2 separate regions of the Homo sapiens genome follow, and region 2 is linked to region 1. The links are contacts of gene promoters, found by promoter capture Hi-C in human tissues and cell types (Jung and others, 2019). All regions are on one chromosome and are shown on one strand. The core of a region is centred on a gene start or on the middle of the fragment in contact, and the rest is flanking DNA. Distances in the headings are between cores, read along the strand shown. Region 1 holds the start of FAM78B (family with sequence similarity 78 member B). Region 2 overlaps LINC01675 (long intergenic non-protein coding RNA 1675).

Region 1 (6,451 bases), core at 1,840-4,339:
TGTACTTGCCAGCCACTCAGCTAGTGAATGACCACTCCTAACACTGGCATTTGTGTCCCAGTACCACTTAGCTCTCCTTACTTTCTCATCGACATCCGCACAATAATTCTCATACTGTGATCAATTTTTTCTTCACAGAGTCAGGGAAATAGGGCGTTAATAAGGTAAAGATATAAGGTAATGAAGTAAGAAGTTTATTTTAATGGCAAAATTTATTTAAGTAGCTTTAGAAATTACTTTGGCCCCATATTCATAGAACCATTAAGAGTCTAAAAAGATTCTTTACATTTTTCAGCTACACTTTACCGTACTTTATGGTGGAAATTATATGCCATGATGACATTCATGATTTTGGAGACTCACCAAGGTCATGGATGAACCCTCTGAGAATGTCAAGGGTCCAAGTCCATGAATAATGTTACATTTTATTGGCTTTACTAAATATAACAAAATCTTATTTTAAGTTTGAAAAATAAGATATTCTTCCTTATGTGATTTCCCTATATTTTGGGAAAGGCTGCCATTCCCCTCCCCGTTTATGAAGGTTTAACATGTGTCACCAGAAGACAAAGGAGTTATTTATCCACAAAACTGCAGCCTGACAAGCAACTCAAATTAAGAAACATAACTACATTCCCCAATGAAATGCTTTCCTTTTGGTCTATTGCCTGGAACCTAATAACCACTGAAACTCAAACTCTGACCCCACCCTGCCCCCCAAATACCTCCAAGAACCTCGAACTTAACATGACATCACCCACAGTCCCAAGCTGCTTCCCCTTCTATCACCTTGTTCAGTTACCAAGTAAATACATTTACCTCCTAAGTGATTCTTAAATGCAAATGCAGCCAGGCCTCTCCAGCCCCACAGCACTGCCCCAAGCTAGCCGAGGGTCAAAGTATCTGTCATCACAATATTCTGAAACGCTGCCTCCTCTATTCTCTATATGGATGCAGAGTAATTTTTCTCAAAATGCATGGCTTGCCTTCATTGGCTTCCACTGAAGTTTAAGATAAGGTCCTATCAAGAGAAGACACTGGGCCCTACTAGAGGGTGAAGGGTAGGAGGAGGCAGAGGATAAAAAAAAAATACCTATTGGGTACTATCCTCATTACCAGGGTGATAAAATAATCTGTCCAACAAACCCCTATGACATGCAATTTACCTATATAACAAACCTGCACCTGTACCTCTGAACCTAAAAGTTAAAAAAATTATTCACCAAACCCAGTGATCAAGGTTAATAACACCAGTAAAAAGTCATATTGCTATCATGTACCCCTGACATAATGCAATGAGAAGGCACTTCATCTTCATGGTATTCATCCCCCAAATCCAAAACCCTGGTCTAATCATGAGGAAACATCAGATAAATGCAAATGAGGAACAATTCTACAGAATATCTGACCAGTCCTCTTTAAAAATGTCAAGGTCATGAAAAACAGAGAAAGACTGAGAAGCTGTCACAGATTGAGAAGAATAAGGAGATGTAATGACTAAATGCAACATCATATCTTGGATTAGATTCTAGAGAAAAAAAGACATTAGTGGAAAAACTAGTAAAATCAAAATAAAGTCTGTAGTCTTAATTTTAAAAAGAAAAAAGATATGGTCTATCAACAACCAATTGATTCTTGGACAGTGATTCTGATGCCCATGGTCGACACATAACACCTTGAGAAATGCCTTGACTGTGAGTTGTTTCTCCCCCTCAGTACAGGATGAGTTCTTTCATATCTCTATGCATTTTGCATTTGCCAAATGCTGGTCCTGTACTACTCATTCACCTTTCTCTTTTCAGTGAGACTCTACAGTCTGTCAGTATTCAATTTAAATGTCACTACTTGAGCAAAGTCACACGTAAATCTCTCAGTGGCCAGAGAGCCACTGAGTGGCTCTCTGACCACTGAGGGATTTACATGTGGCCAGAGATTTACATGTCTGGCCTTCCACGGCACTGGATACACAACCCCACTAAAGCAGGTGTCACAGTTTACTATAATAACTTGTTAACAGGTTTATTTTCTCCAGTGATCCATGTGCTCTTTTTCAACTTTGAATCCCTAGTACCTAGCACTATGTTTGGCTCCTGCCAGGCAGGCAGTCAGCCTTTGCTGAATGAAAGGACCAGTGATTGAGGTCTGTGGCTACACGGTAAAATGAGAGAGACGAGTCATCAAAGGGAAAAACTGCTTTTTTGTTAACTATAAAGTGAACCAAGGTGTCAGAACAGTTAAAACAAGGATGAAGAGTGCTTTTAGATCTCAATCAATTTTTAAATTACTCGTCACACCTGTCCTAGCTAAAGACTAACTCTAGCACCTCCTGCGGCCTGTTAGTCAGTATTTCACACTTGGGCAGCAGATCCAGCAAATGTTCAATGATCGCAGAAGAAATACTTAGAAGCTATTGGCTTTGAAAATAAAAATGTAAGAAGATGCCTAGTAAAAGCATCTGCTAAATATTCTTCCTGTTTGGCACATTAGACTGCAGTATCAGACACATGACCGTGGTCATACTGTACACAATGCCCAATGTCTGCCAAAACTCTGGCATATGAGAGACTTAGTGCTGGAGTACGGAGGGATTCTTCCGGTATCCCCACTACACACAGTGGTGGAAAGAAGAGCTTCCAGAACAAACCCAGTCAGGCAAAGAGGCAAATACACTGCATTTAGTAACGCTGCTGGAGCCCGCCCTTCACCCTTTCTGAAGGTAGGATACTAAAAGGGCTCAAGCCTAAATCTAATCCAACAAGCTATATTCTGAATAACGACCAATCTCTGATAAAGCTGTTCCCCTAACCCTTCTGCTGCCCGAAACACTCACTCTACAGCCCCTACTGGGCTACCGGGTTCCCCACTGGACTCTGGACAGCGCCGCGCCCTGCTCGGCCTCACCCACCCGGTGGCGCTTGGGCCCGCCCTAGTCCCCCACCCCCACCCCAGGGCACCACCTACCAGGGCCCCGCCCCGCCTCAGCCCCACGTGCGGGGCCCCACCCCGGCGCTAGCGGCCCTTTAAACACCCCCACCCTTACACATTACCCCCCCCCCACCCGGACGGCAGCCGAATAGGGACAAAACTCATGGCGTACAGCCAGTTTCCTCCGCGGAGCACGTCCTGTGCTGCTCCAGCCGTTGGGGCTCTCCACCCCGGGCCACAGCCTCCTGGCGCCCCCCGGGCCGAGGCAGCCGGGCCGAGGAGTGTCGGTGTGGTCCGGCTACGGGGCGGGGCCGGCGGGAGCTCCGGTCGCCGCCGCCGCCGCTGCTGCCTCCGCCTGCCTCTTGGGCCGCCCGCTCGCCCGCCGCTGGGTGCGCTGCACGCGGGGGGCAGCCGTGGTGCAGAGGTTCATGCAGCGGCGGCGGCGGCGGCGGCTGCTGCTGCTGCCGCCGCGGAGGCAGACAGACCGGGCGCTGCCACCGCCGCCCTCCCCCGGCTCCATGCCGCCGCCGCTGCCGCCTCCTCCTCTCCGGCGAGGGGCGGGGGGCTCCGGCCCGGGGTGGGCACCATTCCTCGCAGCGCCGCTCCCCTCCCTGCCCTCCGCCCGGGCGCTGGAGCCGGCGAGGGCACCCGCCGCCTCCTAGGAGTGCACCCTCCGCGCGCCCTGCCGGAGCGAGGGGGCGGGCGTGGGCGGACGTCGGGGCAGCGGGGACCCCGCGCGGCTGCAAGAGGAGGGGGCTTCCCCAAGGATGCCCGGCGGCTCCCCGCTCCTAGGTGCGAGCTGAGTCTGACCGGGAGCGAGCGGCGCGTCGCCATGCCGGCGTGACGGGCGCCCCCGGCTGCCCGCGCGGGCCCCCGCGCTGCCCCACGCCGCGCCGTGCCGGCACCGGGCTGCAGGATGGGCTGTATCCAAAGCATCACCTGCAAGGCGCGGATCCGGCGCGAGAACATCGTGGTGTACGATGTGTGCGCCACCATCGACCAGTGCCCCACGCGCATCGAGGAGACCTCGCCCATCGTCCTGCGCTACAAGACCCCCTACTTCAAAGCCTCCGCCCGCGTGGTCATGCCCCCCATCCCCCGCCACGAGACCTGGGTGGTGGGCTGGATTCAGGCGTGCAATCAGATGGAGTTCTTCAACACCTACAGCGACCTGGGCATGTAAGCGACTCGCCGCGCGGCACGGGAGCGGACTCTGGGCCCCCAGCTCTGCTTGCCACCTTGACCCCCCTCCCCAGCTCCTTCCTACTGCTGTCCCCATCGTCTTTCTAAACCTTCCTCCCGCCTCCTCTCCCACCTCCCTCCTCCCTACGCTTTTGTTTCAGTGACAGGGCGGGTGTAGGGAGGCTCCTTGCGAAGGCATTTTCTCGTGGTTTGCTTCTGACTTCCCAGAAACGCGAGGAGAAAGGTGCGGGGCGGGAAGAACGCGACAAGGAGGGTTCGAGAGGCGGAGGTGGGGATGGCTGGCGAGTGCCTGGCGAGTTTCAGGGCGCCGTCTGTGCTTTGTGGGGCTCCCCGGGAAGAGTTTGGGGGAAACCATAGAGGAGTGGAGTGGAGTGCCGGGGGCGCATGGGCTGTGCCGCGCGTCCTTTGGAGAAACCGGAGCGGGCTTGGAAGAGCAGGTCCCGGGCATCCGAGCGGGAGTTGGTAGTTCTGTCCTTGCCCTCGCGACTGTTGAAGTTTCGAACCCTTGTCCCCCGGGCCAGGGAGCCCGGAGGCGTTTCCGTCTGGAACCACAAGCCGGACACAGTTGCCTCTCTGTTTCCGCGCCCCCTGGACCAGTTCTGGTGGGGAGCTGGAAGGCACCGAGTGCGTCCCGGCCAAGAAGGGCGGATAGCCTTGTGCGAGCAGCGTTCGGCTGGCGCGGCGCGGGGTGTTTCTTATGCTAAAGGAAAGGATGGATCTCTTGTCTGTCTAGGGTCCTTACTTTTTAAAACTTTCCTAATTGCGGCACTGGAAGGGATTCCCCTGGCGCCCACCGCCGAATTCTATCGGCGAGCTGGGAGCTCTCCAACTTTCAGCAGCGCCGGTTGGTGCGCGCCGGGCTTGGCTGCTGCGGTGAAGACCAAGGATCGCCGCGGCTCCTCAACCGCCAGGGGCCGCAGGCTACGGGCGGTCGCGTCCGGGACTTTTATATTTACCAAATTTTCATAACTCCGCACCCGCCTCCTTTCAGAACTAGACTCTGAGCAGGTGGCAACGACAATAGCTAAAAGGTTTAGGGCCTGCCTTCTACCTGCTGTTACAATGTAGGTCTAGAACACCCTAATTAGCCAGTCTGCAGCCTACAGGGAAACCCTTTTTCTGGAAATTCAACCTCATTTCACTTATTAATCTAAAACTCTAGAGCTCCCAAGGTTCGTCTATTTAATATGGATATGGGGTGGGGGAGTTCCCATTTTAAAAGGTCAAACCATCTTTTTAGCAGCAGTTTGCAGGCTTTTTATTGCACTCTGAGAGCATGTCAGTTAACACTAGTCATAGGCGCTAAAAGAAATTTGACAGGTCGTTGTTTTCCTTTTTTCCTCCCAAAGATTTTGCACTTTTCTCTTTAAGCACAAAAGCTTAATCCTTGAGAAAACTCAATTCCTAGTGAAGAAATGTGAGGCCCAGTTTCCAATATGCCTCAGCACACTGTATTCTTCCAGAGAAGACAGCTAGATGTGAGAAATGGGGGATATTTTATTTGGGGCGAATCATGCCATTTAAAAACTGACATACCCTCAAAAGAATGATTATATGTGAACACATGTGTCTCTTAAAACTGCTTTTTAAAATAAATCCATTGTTTCCAGCCAAGTCAGAGAAAGCCACAGGCAGGGCAAGAGCCCTTCCTCTCATTTCCCTGGCCTCACCCTGATGGCAGTGGGTTGCTGGAGGACAGCAAGTGCTCCCCACAGCAGCCTGGGGCCCCTGGTAGAGGAAGCCAGGAGTGACTGTGCAGAAGCAGCCTCACTTTTCCCAAGACTGCACAGCGGAACTCTCTGTTGCCTCAAATCTCTTATGAATAAGTAAAAGCAAATATATAAATACAGAATTATTTCCGTAAAACTTACTTTACCTTAGGAGAAGTCAAGTTGAGATATAAACAGACATGGTAGTTGAACTTCCTGGAATCTATAGGGAAGGTATGTCCTCACTGGAACCAACTTTAATGGATATGAATCAGTGACAGGATTCCTGACCCTTCCCCACTGAATCCTTGCATTTGGGATTTGGAAAGTGGTTTTGTTTTTAAACTGCCACTTTTGATATTTTAAGATTCTTGGTTTTCATGTAGATGTAGGAGAGCAAAAATAGACCCCCAATAAATCATAAAGCATATTATTATAGATTTGTGTCCACAGTCTACCTGTTTCTTCATGGTTGCAATAATTGCTATGTGTTAAAGGCCACTTTGGAGCCCAAATTTGAATGAACCAATTTCCACAAGATATTTATGCCTGGAAAATTTTGCTAGTGTAAACTTTTTAATGGGAATTCATATTGCATGAAAGTTGCTGCAGTC
Region 2 (6,451 bases), core at 1,677-4,176, 310 kb before region 1:
TTGAAATGTAAGCAAATCTTCTAGGAAGGAGATGTCGATTTTAGTACGAGCCTTTTAAGTAATTTCCTGCCTTCCTTTACACTAACTATTAATGTCTTGGACCCTCAGTTTTCTTGGCTGTAAAATATGGGGGTTGAACTAAATAATTTCTTCAGCAATGCCAAGCTTTAAGATGCTATAATATTTTATTGATTACAGGAATTTAACCTCATTTAATTGGCTCAAAGAACTACTATCAGAATTTCTTTAAAATAATATTGTTTTATTTGTCGTATTTTTCAGACTTTTTTTGCTCTTTACATTGGATATTTTTAGTGATAAAATATTTTACACATGCAAAAAAGTAAAGAGAATCATACAACAGACACTTGTATCATGTATGATAATGTACCTGGCACACAGTAGGTGAATAATAAGTACTCTTGAAAGAATGATCTGGACCATCAGAGATAACTACAGTTGCTATAAAATAGCTGTGATTTTCCCAGAATGGCCAGCAGAGGGCGGACTTGCACATTGACAAAACTGACCCTTGGTTTAGGTAAATTACCTTGGTGTCTTAGCTCCCCTGGTACAAATTAATTATTGTGAAATTGTTTAGCACATAGCCAACAGCTGATCTATCTACCCCTTGTTAACCACATTAAATGAACACAACTACTGTTCACAGATTGTTCAGAGACTTCAAAGTCAGTGCATTGTCAAATAACAGTTTGGAAAATTTGCAGTATTTAAACCGCCTATCTAGATCACTCTAAATCTCCCCAAATCTTCTTTGCCAGTTGTAGCTATATTTCTAAACCTTGTCATTAGGAGTAGCAGAGTGATGGTCTGAATTAATTATCAAAGTTGCTGAATATTTTGTTTCACTAGTTAAGTATTGTAATCTCACTCTCGATCTGTTAACAAAATATATATAACCCCCTCACCCCCCCGCCACACACATGCATATCCATTCTTTATGCCCAGAGGAAGCCACTGTTAACGGTTACTTGAATCTTTTTTGAAATTGCATATGCACATATAACCATAGATATATAGGTTTTTTTTTTTTTAACCATAAATGGGATCACAAATGCCTGGAGTCCTATAATGTAATTTTTTTTAATAACCATGTAATCATCTACAATATATCTGTGTTAACTAGTAGAGATCTTGGCAGAGAGCAAACGACCTGAATATTTCTGATCTGATTACTGGGAATCCATTTGGCCCAGCCAACACACTTAATCCTTTGTTGTCTCTTGTGTGTAGATAAGGTGTTTTCAGTGGGAAGCCATAAAAATAACCCCTGAATCTTGGTTATCCTATACTTTGTGCCTCTCCATGCAGGTGGAGGATTACCACAACAACAAGATGCAGCTGTAAGAAAATAGGCTTGCTTTGCAGTGTGGCTGAGCACCACAGCCAGATCAGAGCCAGAATTTCCAATGCCAGTCATGAGGATTCTGTTTCCCATAAATCCCTCTAAATTTTATATTTCTCACTGTGGAAATATTTGCCTTTGAATTTCTCAATCTCTATTTAAGGAAAATAAATGGAAAATAATTGTTTAGATTCAAGAAATGCAAAGGTTACTTTAGCTTTTGCATTGCATTTGTGCAGTCTAACAGTAAACCCATTTTATAACTAGAATTTATATATAGTACCATGTTCAACTTCTTTTACTACTGGTCCTTCTGTGTCAGAGATCCATAATCCGTGGGCCATGGACTGGTACTGGTCTGTGGCCTGTTAGGAACTGGGCTGCACAGCAGGAGGTGAGCGGTGGACTAGCAAGCAAAGCTTCATCTGTATTTGCAGCCACTGCCCATTGCTTGCATTACTGCCTGAGTTTTGCCTCCTGTCAGATCAGTGGTGGCATTGGATTCTCACAGGAGTGCAAACGCTATTGTGGACTGCACATGTGAAGGATCTAGGTTGCATGCTCCTTATGAGAATCTAATATCTAATGATCTGTTACTGTCTCCTATCCCTTGAGATGGGACCATCTAGTTTCAGGAAAACAAGCTCAGGGCTCCCACTGATTCTACATGATGGTGAATTGGATAATCATTTCATTATATATTACAATGTAATAATAATAGAAATAGAGTGCACAATAAGTGTAATGCATTTGAATCTTCCCCAAATCATCCCCACCCCACCCCACTCTGTGGAAAAATTGTCTTCCACAAAACTCTTCCCTGGTGCCAAAAAGATTGGAGACCACTGCTCTATGTTACACCAACATTAACTGATACTAACAGAAATCTTATTTACCATAGTAAACACATGAAGTTATTTTATATACATTTTCACAGAGCAAGTTCATTTTGGTAATACCCAAATCCATACAGCATACTATGTTTTTTCTATCATTATCATCATGGACTCTCAAAATTGGAAAATGAGTCCATCTGGTCCAATTTTACATCATATATTAGCAGAGACTTGCTATGCAAAATTAACCCACAGACCGGCAGTAGCAGCAGCAGCAGCACCAGAGAACTTAGGCAAAGGCAAATTCAATTCAGAGGACCCACTCCACACATGTTGAATTGGAATTTTGGGGAGTTGGAACTAATAATCTGATTTAACAAGGACTTTGGGTGATTCTTGCCATACTAAAGTTTGAGAACCATTGATCTATAAACTCCTCATTAATGATCATTAGTTTCTGCTTAAATATTTCCTTAATTAGGAAATCTACTACTTCACAAGGCAGACCGTTTCATTTTAGATCATTACTTCTTGTTGGAAATCCCTTCTTATTTAGATCCAAGTCGACCTTCCTGGAGCCTCTATCCACTACTTGTTTTGCTCAACAAGAACACACATCGTGTTGACTCCATCTTTTATATGATGGTGAGTTGTGGTCAAACACAGCTATCCTGCTCCTCTTCCTCCCTCCGTGAGTGTCCTCCTCCCCCAGTGAATGTCCCTCTCAGGTTAAATAACTTTAGTGGTTTTTAAATGTTCACCAAGCTGCATTTATCTCTTTAATATTCTTATTGTTCTCCTTTAATGAAGTTCCCTTTTGTCACCATTCCTTCAAAGTGAAACACTTCAAAGAGTACAATAAAAAATAAATAAATAAATTTTTAAAAATAAATTTAAAATGAGAACAGAACATAATCCTTTAAGTGTAGTCTGACAACACTTAGAGGGGGGTAAAACAGATAGATACCTTTGTTGAAAAGTAAGTGCTATTTTTGGTTTGGGCTTGGACATTCTGATTCTAACAGGCTTTTTCCTTTATAAAACTGAAATCTCTACAGAAGTCAGGTTTTCTTCTAAAAGGGGTTATTTATTTGGGTTAGTGACTTATTGTTTGACATTGTCAAGATAATTTTAAATTTGTTTTACTTAACCACAGACTGTTATAAAGGAGAGGCATTTCCTTTGCTTTGCATAAATCATCCCTCCACCATTAGGATTCCCCAAGATAGGAAAGTTACATACCTAGGTAAATGAGGGTCAGTCTGATGACCACTGCAGCCCATAACTGTGCCAGAGACAGATGACCTTTGCTTCCCCTCAGCCTCACCACAATGTTCCATTGGCCAGTGCAAGAGAAACCAGGATGCTTCCTCATACTGCACATCTTTATCTGAGAACCAAAGGACAAATATGGGTGTCACATGCCAGCTCCTTCTACCTCCTTCTGAAACCAGAGGACTGGATTGGAACCAACAGAGATCATGCTGTTTACTTCACAGATTTCAAGAAAAGTGAATTCTGAGTAATCATTTTTTTTTAGATCTTCCTATGTGTAAAAATCTTTGGTGAGATTTACCATCTCATTTAAAGTTCTTTCACAATTTTTGTGAAAATTGAGTGATGTGTAATAAATAAGTTATTTTTTTTCTTTATAGCTGATGCTTGACCTTTTTTCCCTTGGTAATATAGCTTACGAAGCAGATATATATGCCAATACACCCTTGATTTTAAGTCTTTCAAATAGAAGAACATAGGGATAAACTGACACATGAGAGATGGATAAATGTACGGACACATACATGTTCAACAGTTGTTGTTTTGGGGATTATGCCACAGAGTCATCAAATGCTGTCTAACACTAAATTAGATTTTCCTGTGAGGTTGTAAGCAACCTGTTGTGGGAAGTAATCAAGCAGGGACTAGATATCCATCTATCAGAAAAAATGAATTTCTAGAGAGATATGGCATAGCCTTTCCAAATTTAAGGTTCCATGAGTGTAGAGAAATGAGGATAATGACTGTTAATGGTTAGTGTTTACCTTAGGAAAGCCACCAATCTAAGTATTCTATCTGCACTAACTCATTTAATCCAGAAAGAGATGGCTCCGAAAAGGGAATTTTAACAATACTCTGCCTTTCTGCAAAGAAAATGCCAAGTGAGAAAGTTGTATTGTTGATATACACACATATTCACAAAAGACCGCTATATAGGGAATAAGCTTTTGCAAATAAACACACTATTGCCTCTAAATCAGTGAGCAGTATTTCTAAACCAGGAGATTTAATCTTCTGAAATTTCATGAAAAATATTGTATTTATGTGCCCATTTCTGGAGAAAGGTGACAATTGCCCTCATCAGCTTTGCGCTCAAAGGTCAAAATAATAATAATTATAAAAAACTTTAAAGCTTACCCAGAAACAGATGTATTTCACAAGGTCAATGTATTATATATTTCAAAATAACTAAAGAATATGATTTTAAATGTTCTCACCACAAAGAAATGATAAATATTTGAGGTGATAGACACACTTATTCGCCTGATTTGATCATTCCACAATTTATGAGTGTATTGAAACATCATATTGTGACCCAAATATGTATAGAATAATTGTTTATCAATTCAAAATAAAACTGTTTTTAAAAGTGCTTGGCATATATCCTCAAATGCTGCAGGAGCTATGGGTTTTACATGTTATTTGGAAAGTGATGGAGTATGAGAAGTCACTGAAGCAGGTCATTTACTTCTAAGTGTTGATGGTCAAAGATTGGTAGATGCTGGGCTTTCCTTCTTCTGTCTGCCCATGTACTTGGCCTAGCTTCACTATTTGGGACTTGCATTCTCTGAACAAGTGACTGTTCTTCAGTGAGCTGTCAGGAAAATGGGGTTGCAGTAATACTGGCTCTATCTACTTTTTGTAAGGACCACATTGAAAGTAAAAAGCTTAGTAAAATGCTAGGAAGACAGCTAAGCATTGAACAAATATGATTCCTTTGGGGATTTATCTATGTACAATTTCAAAAATAGAGGCAATATGAGCAAGTTCAGAGGCAAAGCACAGAATAGCTTGGCATCTAACTAGAAGCACTTCCTGTAACCTGCTGCCATATTTCAAGGTGCCCACCCACCCATGCTTCCTTCTGGGGAATTCCTGTACAGATCCCCTAGTGTCCTAAGCAGCTGTGCTCTGGCCAGTGCATTTTTTTCCCAGCTCTTGTCTCAGCTGAGTACTGGTGGTGAGCTCCTGATATGGTTTGGCTGTGTCCCCACCAAAATCTCATCATGAATTCCCACATGTCGTGGAAGGGACTTGGTGGGAGGTAATTGAATCATGGGGGCAGATCTTCCCGTACTGTTCTCTTGATAGTGAATAAGTTTCATGAGATTTTTCCCTGCACAAGCTCTCTCTTTGCCTGCTGCCATCCATGTGAGATATGCCTTTCACCTTCCACCATGATTGTGAGGCCTCCCCAGCCATGTGGAACTGTAAGCCCAATAAACCTCTTTCTTTTGTAAATTGCCCAGTCTCAGGTATGTCTTTATCAGCAGTGTGAAAATGGACTAACAGAGTAAATTGGTACCAGTAGAGTGGGGTGCTACTGAAAAGATACCCAAAAATGTGGAAGCGACTTTGGAACTAAGTAACAGGCAGAGGTTGGAACAGTTTGGAGGGCTCAGAAGAAGGCAAAAAATGTAGGAAAGTTTCGAACTCCCTAGAGACTTGTTGAATGGCTTTGACCAAAATACTGATAATGATACAGACAATGAAATCCAGGCTGAGGTGGTCTCAGATGGAGATGAAGAACTTGTCGGGAACTGGAGTAAAGGTGACTCTTGCTATGTTTTAGCAAAGAGACTAGCAGCATTTTGTCCCTGCCCTAGAGATTTGTGGAACTTGGAACTTGAGAGAGATGATTTAGGGTATCTGGTGGAAGAAATTTCTAAGCAGCGAAGCATTCAAGAGGTGACCTGGGTGTTGTTAAAAGCACTAAGTTTTAAAAGAGAAACAGAGCATAAAAGTTGGGAAAATTTGCAGCCTGACACTGCCATAGAAAAAATATCCCATTTTCTGAGGAGAAATTCAAGCCAGCTGCAGAAATTTGCATAAGTAACAAGGAGCCAAATGTTAATCACCAAGACAATGAGGAAAATGTCCCCAGCGCATGTCAGAGGTCTTCATGGCAGCCCCTCCCATCACAGGCTCAGAGGCCTAATAGCAAAATATGGTTTCGTCCGCAGCCTGGCCCAGG

What was found. The method cuts DNA at HindIII sites, captures the fragments that hold promoters and counts their contacts. A contact is called where the count stands out against the background at its distance.
Region 2: a contact is called between a fragment that was not itself captured here and the fragment with the promoter of FAM78B in region 1, in 3 of the 25 tissues and cell types used here (heart right ventricle, mesendoderm cells and thymus).

What each region holds. Positions count from the first base shown.
Region 1 is chr1:166,163,639-166,170,089 of GRCh38, reverse strand. FAM78B (family with sequence similarity 78 member B) reads left to right here and starts at 3,089. Exons shown (of 2, transcript NM_001017961.5): 1 at 3,089-4,104. The coding sequence starts at 3,842. LOC112268276 (a long non-coding RNA gene) reads right to left here and starts at 4,213. Exons shown (of 3, transcript XR_002958633.2): 1 at 4,036-4,213. RefSeq lists silencers at 755-814, 2,849-3,338, 3,379-3,438 and enhancers at 3,829-3,878, 3,979-4,148, 3,320-4,222. The HindIII fragment of the contact is 7,560 bases long and covers 1-6,451 here.
Region 2 is chr1:166,473,277-166,479,727 of GRCh38, reverse strand. It overlaps LINC01675 (long intergenic non-protein coding RNA 1675), which reads left to right. Exons shown (of 3, transcript NR_146890.1): 2 at 2,759-2,847; 3 at 3,524-3,956. It also overlaps the pseudogene FMO7P. Among named protein-coding and RNA genes, the nearest start is that of LINC01675, 14 kb to the left of the region's middle. The HindIII fragment of the contact is 3,902 bases long and covers 976-4,877 here.